Linked DNA regions of Homo sapiens: region 1 is linked to region 2. Evidence: promoter capture Hi-C in 16 types of primary human blood cells and fetal thymus (Javierre and others, 2016). All regions are on one chromosome and are shown on one strand. Each heading gives the region's core, a stretch centred on a gene start or on the middle of the fragment in contact. The rest is flanking DNA. Distances are from core to core; before and after follow the strand shown. Region 1 overlaps ZBTB46 (zinc finger and BTB domain containing 46). Region 2 holds the start of SRMS (src-related kinase lacking C-terminal regulatory tyrosine and N-terminal myristylation sites).

Evidence for each region. Contacts are between HindIII fragments. The CHiCAGO score rates a contact against its expected background, and 5 or more counts as called.
Region 1: a fragment that was not itself captured here is called in contact with the fragment with the promoter of SRMS in region 2 in 11 of 17 cell types (activated CD4 T cells, non-activated CD4 T cells, total CD8 T cells and 8 more); the score reaches 12.1 in activated CD4 T cells.

The regions. Positions count from the first base shown.
Region 1 is chr20:63,787,164-63,791,354 of GRCh38, reverse strand. It overlaps ZBTB46 (zinc finger and BTB domain containing 46), which reads left to right. Exons shown (of 5, transcript NM_001369741.1): 2 at 565-1,534. The coding sequence starts at 598. Among named protein-coding and RNA genes, the nearest start is that of ZBTB46-AS1, 19 kb to the left of the region's middle. The HindIII fragment of the contact is 7,196 bases long and covers 1-4,191 here.
Region 2 is chr20:63,545,320-63,549,939 of GRCh38, reverse strand. It overlaps SRMS (src-related kinase lacking C-terminal regulatory tyrosine and N-terminal myristylation sites), which reads left to right and starts at 2,191. Exons shown (of 8, transcript NM_080823.4): 1 at 2,191-2,832. The coding sequence starts at 2,477. RefSeq lists an enhancer at 2,477-3,118. The HindIII fragment of the contact is 15,344 bases long and covers 1-4,620 here.

The DNA.
Region 1 (4,191 bases), core at 811-3,310, 240 kb before region 2:
CCAGCTGCTTTTTTTGTATTTTTAGTAGAGACAGGGTTTCACCATGTTGGCCAGGATGGTCTCGATCTCCTGACCTTGTGCTCCACCCTCCTCGGCCTCCCAGATTGCTGGGATTACAGGCATGAGCCACCGCGCCCAGCCTGGAAGTTTTATTCTTTTTCCTTAAGAATGTTTCTTCAAGCGTGAGGGATGGCCACAGTGTAGGTCATTTAACCGAGTTCTCAGTTTGGGTAAGAGTTGCTCAGCCACGGCTGGGTGTTCTCATCGTTCCTGGGATATGCCAGTTGCCGTATGTGGGATTCTGTTCAGAACCCCATTAGCCTCGAGCACGGAAACACGTGGCAGACGTCCCACCCTGGACGCACTGGTGCCCTCCGGTGTTTGCTGCCCTGCTTCAGGCGGAGACACAGGCCTCCCGCTGCACACCTGTGGATGGGCTCTCGCGTGGGTCGTCCTCCCACTGGCCGCACTCTGTGCCCCATGGCCCTCCTGCGCCCCGCCCGGCGTCCTCTCACGGCCTCTGTCTGTGCTGAGCTTGGGTAACTCTTGTTCTTACCTCCACAGAGTCTGTAGAAGAGGCGACACCAGGGCTTCCAAATGAACAACCGAAAGGAAGATATGGAAATCACGTCCCACTACCGGCACCTGCTGCGGGAGCTCAACGAGCAGAGGCAGCACGGCGTCCTGTGCGACGTCTGCGTGGTCGTGGAGGGCAAGGTCTTCAAGGCGCACAAGAACGTCCTGCTGGGCAGCAGCCGCTACTTCAAGACGCTCTACTGCCAGGTGCAGAAGACGTCGGAGCAGGCCACGGTCACGCACCTGGACATCGTCACGGCCCAGGGCTTCAAGGCCATCATCGACTTCATGTACTCAGCGCACCTGGCGCTCACCAGCAGGAACGTCATCGAGGTGATGTCAGCCGCCAGCTTCCTGCAGATGACGGACATCGTGCAAGCCTGCCACGACTTCATCAAGGCGGCGCTGGACATCAGCATCAAGTCGGACGCCTCAGATGAGCTTGCGGAGTTCGAGATCGGCGCCTCGTCCAGCAGCAGCACGGAAGCTCTCATCTCGGCCGTGATGGCTGGGAGGAGCATCTCCCCGTGGCTGGCACGGCGAACGAGTCCTGCCAATTCTTCCGGAGACTCGGCCATCGCCAGCTGTCACGACGGAGGGAGCAGCTACGGGAAAGAGGATCAGGAGCCCAAGGCCGATGGCCCTGATGATGTTTCTTCACAGCCTCTATGGCCTGGAGACGTGGGCTACGGGCCTCTGCGCATCAAGGAAGAGCAGGTTTCACCGTCTCAGTACGGAGGGAGCGAGCTGCCTTCTGCCAAGGACGGTGCAGTACAGAACTCTTTCTCAGAGCAGAGTGCTGGTGATGCCTGGCAGCCCACGGGCCGAAGGAAGAATCGGAAAAACAAAGAGACCGTCCGGCACATCACACAGCAGGTGGAAGATGACAGCCGGGCCAGCTCCCCGGTGCCGTCCTTCCTGCCGACGTCGGGGTGGCCGTTCAGCAGCCGAGACTCAAGTAAGCCTTTCACTCGTTACGGGGGCTCAGCTGCCCCAGTGTGTCCAGGCCTCACGGCCGCGTGCTGTGCGGAGGCAGTGACGCATGTCCAGGCTCACACTGGTGGCTTTCTAGGGTCACTTCCTCTTACAGGAGGTTGTCGTGACCGCTGGGAATGCAGCCAATGCATCTCAAAGGGCAGGGCATCACCAGGGCCCTTGGAGACCCTGTGTATCTGTCCCCATCAGCACGGCACTGGTGTCACCCACACACGGGGGCTGCCTGGGCTGGGCCCCTCTGAAGCCACAGGGACGTGAGCCGGGGGGTGGGTGACACCGGGAGGGGACCCCTCAGCCCTGGTGAGGGCGTGGCCTGCAGGGTCGGCTTCCCCTGGCCTGTGGGACCCTCCCATGAGCCCTGACTGGGGTAACTCGACTGGCCGCTTGCCAGGGTGGCCTTCAGCTCCAGGCTTTTCATCCTGGACTTCTGCCTTTGGTCACTGTTGCTATAGTGAATGTTGAATGGAAACACCATGTGAATGTACTTTGTCCTTGGTGGCTCAGCTTGCCTTGACCTGGGGACCTGAGAGGTTACAGCCAAGAAGCAGCCTTTCCCGGCAAGTGGATTTTGTGTCTGCTGACACCTGTGGGTTCTGCTGTTGAAGCCAACAGGCGATGTTTGTTTCCTCTCTTTTCTCTTTTTCTTTTTTTTTTTGAGACAGTCTCAGCCAGGTGTGGTGGCTCACGCCTGTAATCCCAGCACTTTGAGAGGCTGAGGTGGGTGGATCACCTGAGGTCGGGAGTTCAAGACCAGCCTGACCAACATGGAGAACCCCGTCTCTACTAAAAATACAGAAAAGTAGCCTGTAATCCCAGCTACTTGGGAGGCTGAGGCAGGAGAATCGCTTGAACCTGGGAGGCGGAGGTTGTGGTGAGCCGAGATCGCGCCATTGCACTCCAACCTGGGCAACAAGAGCGAAACTCCATCTCAAAAAAAAAAAAAAAAGAGACAGTCTCACCGTGTTGCCCAGGCTGGAGTGCAGTGACGTGATCTCGGCTCACTGCAACCTCTGTCTCCCGGATTCAAGTGATTCTCCTGCCACAGCCTCCGATTAGCTGGGGATTACAGGCACGTGCCACCACGCCCAGATAATTTGTGTATTTTCAGTAGAGACAGGGTTTCACCATGTTGGCCAGGATGGTCTCGAACTCCTGACTTCAGGTGATCCACCCACCTCAGCCTCCCAAAGTGCTGGGATTCCAGGTGTGAGCCACCGCGCCTGGCTGATGTTTTTTCTTACACCTCATGATACAGGGTCTCCCCTTGGGTCCTGCCTATTACTCACTGCAAAGGGGCTCTGAGCTTAGCTCTGTTGAAGCTGGACGTCACCACCTGAATGGTTGTCCCTTATGTGTCTTCCATATTTGTAAATAATAAATTAAATGTTTGCTGAATACTGGCCACCATTCATGGTGCTGGGCATGTGATATTAATAATAATTGTGGGGATTTGGCCTCTGCTCTTTTCCCCAGGCTGTGGCCCAAGTCAAGGAAGGATATTTGGAGTTGGGTGTGGTGTTGCCTGTGCCTGTACTTCAGCTACTTGGGAGGCTGAGGCGGGAGGATGGCTTGAGCCCAAGATGTCCAGGCTGCAGTGAGCCGTGATTGCACTGCTGCCCTCCAGCCTGGACGACAGAGCCAGACCCTGTCTCTTAATTAAAGGAAAGAAGAAATGGAGGTGTCCTAGCAGGTGCTGCCCGTGGGGAGGTTCCTCCAGGATGAAGCCTGGAAATGAACGTGGGAGGGCGTGAGTGGACAGAGGAGGACGAAAGACAGCAAGCCGCAGGGTGGGAGGCCCTGAAAAATGTCGCAGATGCCGTGTGTGGGTGGCGCAGTGGGAGACGCTGCCTGCCCCCCTGGCTGGAGGGCTTCCTGGGCAGGGCGGGTGTGGCCTCTTCTCCTGACCCTGGTCCCTCCTCTCCGTCGCTGAGAGATCTGCGAGAGCCGGGAGTGAACACAGCTCGATAATACGTTAACTTTTATCATTGTGGTAGAACATACATAATGTAAACCTTACCATTTTAACCATTTTCAAATGTACATTTCACTGGCATTAAAGTCACGCGTTGCTTGATGACAGGGATAGGTTCCAAGAAACGCATCGCTAGGCGATTCTGTTGCTCTGGGAGCGTCATGGAGCGCCCGTCACAAAACTAGAAAGTGCAGCCGGTTATAGGCCCAGCACAAACCTGCCAGTGTTAGTTACGGTGCTGAGCACTGCAGGCAGCTGTGGCACCATGGGAAGTGTTTGTGTGTCTAAACATAGAAAGGGTGCTGTAAAAATAGGGTATACAAGATAACGGCATGCCTGGGTAGGGCCCCTGCCATGCACAGAGCTTGCTGCACTGCAGGTTGCCCTGGGTGAGCGAGTGCTGAGGGAACATGAAGGCTGAGGACAGAACTGTGCACTGCTGCAGACTTTATAAACACTTGGCGTGGCCTACACTAAACTGATTTTTTAAAGTTGTGCTAGGATGTGGCGATGGCTAGGATGGCGATGGCTAGGATGGCGATGGCTATTCCTGTCACGCCACCAGGTGACAGGAATTTCCCGGCTGCGTTCTAATCTACGGGACCACAGTGGTTATCTGTGGTCCATCCCTGACCAAAATGCCCTTC
Region 2 (4,620 bases), core at 942-3,441:
ATGGGGCAGACGTGGGGAGCTGATCTGTGGGCAGGTGGGGCGGTGGGGGTGAGACACGCCGGGGCAGAGGCCCAATGGGGCCCTAACCCTGATGGCCAGGCCTGCCTCTGGTTCCAGCTGGGCATGGAATGTGCTGAGTCCTGTGCCATGATCCCGTGGCTCTAAGGGGCAGGGAGTGTCTGGGAGGAATCTGCATTCAGTGCCCTGAACATCTGACCCTGGTGTGGTGGGCACAGGAGCTTTCCATGGCCTGAGGAGGCCTCCCTGGGGCTCTGCGGCCTTGGCGTTCTAGCGGGGAAGAGTCACGTCCTAGGGAGGATTTGGGAGAGCTGGTAGCCACACCTGTAGTCCCAGCACTTTGGGAGGCAGGAGGATCGCTTGAGGCCAAGAGTTCAAAACCGGCCTGGGCAACATAGTGAGAGCCCATCTCTACAAATAATAAAAAATTTATCTGGGCATGGTGGCGCACACCTGTAGTCCGGCAGGAGGACGGCTTGAGCCCAGGAGATCGAGGCTGCCACTGCACTCCAGCCTGGGCGACAGAGTGAGACCCTGTTTCCAAAAAAAAAGTAAAGAAAAGAAATGGTGGGCAAAAGCCTCACCTGCACGTGAGGAGACGGCGGTGGGTGTGGGGAGGAGACGGCGGCGGGGGGAGTGGAGGGGAGGAGACGGCGGGGGTGGGTTGTGGGGAGGAGACGGCGTCGGGGGCGGGAGGAGACGGGCAGCGGGTGGGGGGAGGAGAGGGCGGCGGGGGCGGGAGGAGAGGGCGGCGGGGGGAAGCGCGGGAGGAGAAGGCGCTGGGGCCCCTCGAAGGCCACCCCCAATGTAGTATTTACAATTCTCCACATTTCTCAACACCCCCCACCACCCCCAGCAGGGCACCTCTCTGGTGCAGAGCCTGCCCTGAGCCTGGCGATGTCCAGTCTCCCAGGGCCCCTGCTGGCTCCAGGCTATCAGCCCGGACACAGCTTGGCTGCTGGGGTGCCCTGAGAGCCAGGCCACGGGTGTCACTGCCACCCCACAATGCACACACCAGTCCCCAGACGTGAGGTTTCTGAGAAGCCCATCTGTGACTCCAGGGCAGGCAGGTGCGAGGGGCTTGTCATTGGCTGGACACTGGTCACGCCTATTGGAGGGATGCATTCAGCCACACGCATGAAGTGGGGGCATGGATGCGTGTGAGATGTGGGAAAGGGGCGTGAGGCTCCCTGAAGGCCACCCAGGTGCGGAAGGGGCTGCTGGGGGAGGCCGGCAGGAGGAGTGAGAGACTGCAGATGGCCTCACCCCACCCCCGTGCCTCAGGACCCAGAGGGGAGGTGGGAGGAGTGAGAGACTGCAGATGGCCCCCACCCCACCCCACTCAGGACCCGGAGGGGATGTGGGAGGAGAGAGAGACTGCAGATGGCCACCACCCCATCCTCCTGCCTCAGGACCCTGTACCGTGCTGCTGGGTTTTGCTGGGATTTGCTCCCCCAGTCCTGCCCCGATCTGGGGACCTACCTGAGCGGGCAGAGTTTGCTTCAGCATGCGGGGGCTTGGCGCTGTCCAGGGAGAGGGTGGGAGGTCCCCAGCCAGGGACTCACCCGCCGCCCCTTCTCCGTGTGCTCATCCCCCTGAACTGGGGCCAGGCGTCCGCAGCCTCCACTTCCCCGCAGTGGCCTTTGGGTATGGCCTGGGCATTGACTGACTCAGAAGCCGGTCATCGGGCAGCATGGGGCATCTGGGTGCCTGGCCTGCGGCCGAGCTCCCTGCAATCAGCATCTCGTTTTACTGCATGAAAGCCGGGGTGCTGAGAGCCCCCTCACTCGCCTGTCCTCAGAATTTACTGCAGAGGCCGGAGGCTCGGCACCTGGTGCAGGGTTAATGATGTTAAAATATCTGGCCAACACTTAAATAAGCAGGCAATTTTTCACCTGAGTGCAGCTCAGGCTTGGCAACCACTGCAGGTGCTGAACAGCAGCGCTTCTCCGTGGAACCCCCACTTCTCCGTGGGCACGGGCGGCTGTTGGACTGTGGTGCCCTTGGGCATGGGCCAGGCCTGACTGGGCAGAGCCATTCCGCCTGCCTGGGCCTTGCAGAGGGCGGGAGAGAGGCTGGCCCTGCCCACCCCGCCCTCCTCGGGCCCCTCCTGGAGCCCGCCCCCGCCCCAGCCCAAGCTGCCCTCTGCCGTCGGGTTGGGGAGGGGACGGTGCACTCCAGACGCCAAGGAGGTCGAGGACAGGAGGTGCTGTCGGTGTGCCTGAGGCAGGGGGTCCGCCCTGCGCCCCACCCAGCCCCAACGCCAGCCCGGACGCCGGTGGGAACCGTGTGCCTCCTGGATCCAGGGGACCTCTGAGTGACCGCAGGGCCGGGGTCCCCTGTCACCCCACGGCCAGGGCAGGGAGCGCTGGACACCGGGTCCCACCGGCCCTGCCAGTTCCTCTTCCGGGCTCGCGGGCTCCCATGGCCCTCGGGCCCAGCGTGGTGACCCCGGGGGATGGAGCCGTTCCTCAGGAGGCGGCTGGCCTTCCTGTCCTTCTTCTGGGACAAGATCTGGCCGGCGGGCGGCGAGCCGGACCATGGCACCCCCGGGTCCCTGGACCCCAACACTGACCCAGTGCCCACGCTCCCCGCCGAGCCTTGCAGCCCCTTCCCTCAGCTCTTCCTTGCGCTCTATGACTTCACGGCGCGGTGTGGCGGGGAGCTGAGTGTCCGCCGCGGGGACAGGCTCTGTGCCCTCGAAGAGGGGGGCGGCTACATCTTCGCACGCAGGCTTTCGGGCCAGCCCAGCGCCGGGCTCGTGCCCATCACCCACGTGGCCAAGGCTTCTCCTGAGACGCTCTCAGACCAACCGTGAGTACCTCGGCCTCGGAGTCAGAGCCTGCCTCGCCCCCAGCTGGGGAGTCCAGAACAACGGCAGGATTTTGAGTTGGAAATCGCATGTCCGTGGCTATCTGTTCATTCATTCGTTCATCCACGCATTCATTCAGGGACAGCTGATGGGCCCCGGGCCGGCAGGTGTGGTAGGAAAACAGCAGTGTCCGCTGTGGGCTGCCGAGAGGGAGAGGAGGCTCCGGCAGGCGTGGTCAGGTCCTGTGGGGGGGAGCATCAGCTGCACCAGCTGGACACCCAGCAGGCGGTTCCTCCAGGACCCTGCCTGGCTGGCCAGGCCCTCCCGCCCTCACACAGGGAGTCCAGTGTTCATGGATCGGTCACTGCTTGGAGGGCAGGGGCTGGGGGCTGGGAGGCACCAGATGACAGGAGCTCCAGGAGCTCTGGGTGACGGCAGGTGAGCAGGGGCTGGGGGCTGGGGGCTGAGACAGGGGCCCATGCTCCAGGAACTCTGGGTGAGGGCAGGTGAGCAGGGGCTGGGGGCTGAGACGGGCCCACGCTCCAGGAGCTCTGGGTGAAGGCAGGTGAGCAGGGGCTGGGACTGGGGGCTGAGACAGGGGCCCACGCTCCAGGAGCTCTGGGTGAGGGCAGGTGAGCAGGGGTTGCAGAGGCGCCTAGTCCAGATGCCCAGTGCGGCTGCTCTGAGCGGCTGCCTTGGTCTGGCATCCAGCTGGGCAAGGCCTGAGCCCTGGAGACCTTCGGGGTCAGCCTTGCTCAGGGCCACTTCCAGCCTCCTGGGGGCCCTTTGGCACTCACACATCGTCCTGGGGGTTGCATGGGCGGGTGAAGCCGGAGTCACAGGAAGGGGCCTTCTGAGGGGCCCCAGGCCCTCACCCCACACCTGCCCCGCTTGTCCTGAGCAGTGGTTGGGGGGCAAGCAGCCTTTGTGATGGGAAGGGGCTCACAGTCACCCCAGGTGTGGAGGACAGACCCCTTCAGCAGTTCCTGGAGGGCAGGGCTCGTGGTGGAGCAGGGCGGTCCATAGGCAAAGCTAATGACTATTTGCCTAGGCTGGAGATTAAAAGACTAACCACACTCAGGTGTCATTAGCTCCAGACACCTGGCCCCACGCCCCAGGGAGAGACCTCAGACACATCCTCTGCATCTCAGGATCCCACAGGGGCTCACCTCTGACCCCCAAGCCCTGATGTGGGCTTCAGAGGAGGCTGGCGATGTTTTGGGGAAACACCTGTGTCTCATCCCCACACCCCACGGTGCTGGGAGGGACCTGAGTCCCTTTACACGTGAGAGGGTTGCGTCTCCCTGCCAGCAGACCCCAGAAGGCAGGGGCCCTGGCTGCAGGAGGAGCTCCATGGACAGAGCGTCCATGGAGTCAGTGCCTCAGGCCGCTGCCTCTCTGTCCCTGGTCCCACACCTCTTCCTGTCTCCATCTTCATTCCCTTCAACTTAAGCCCAGCCCCACGGCCCTGGTCATGTCAGTTTCTATTCCTGCTGCCCCCATTGCCCCCTAGGTCACCGGGGCAGGGGTGCCAGACTGTGTCCTCCGTCTTGCCCAGTCCCAGTCTGCCAGGATGGCATGGCCGTGCCCCAGCCCCGAATCTTGTGTTGACTCTGAGGCCCACCTCGGGTCCTCTCCTAGTCCCGCTTCCCAGGTGGTTTCAGCCCCACCCTGACACCGGCTCACTCTGCTTCTTCCTCCTGGTGCTTACGGGGTGTGCCCTGGGGCAGGGGAGTGGCAGGCATCCCTCTCCGGGTCCCAGGAAGCTCCAGGAAGTGGGAGGCTCCAGG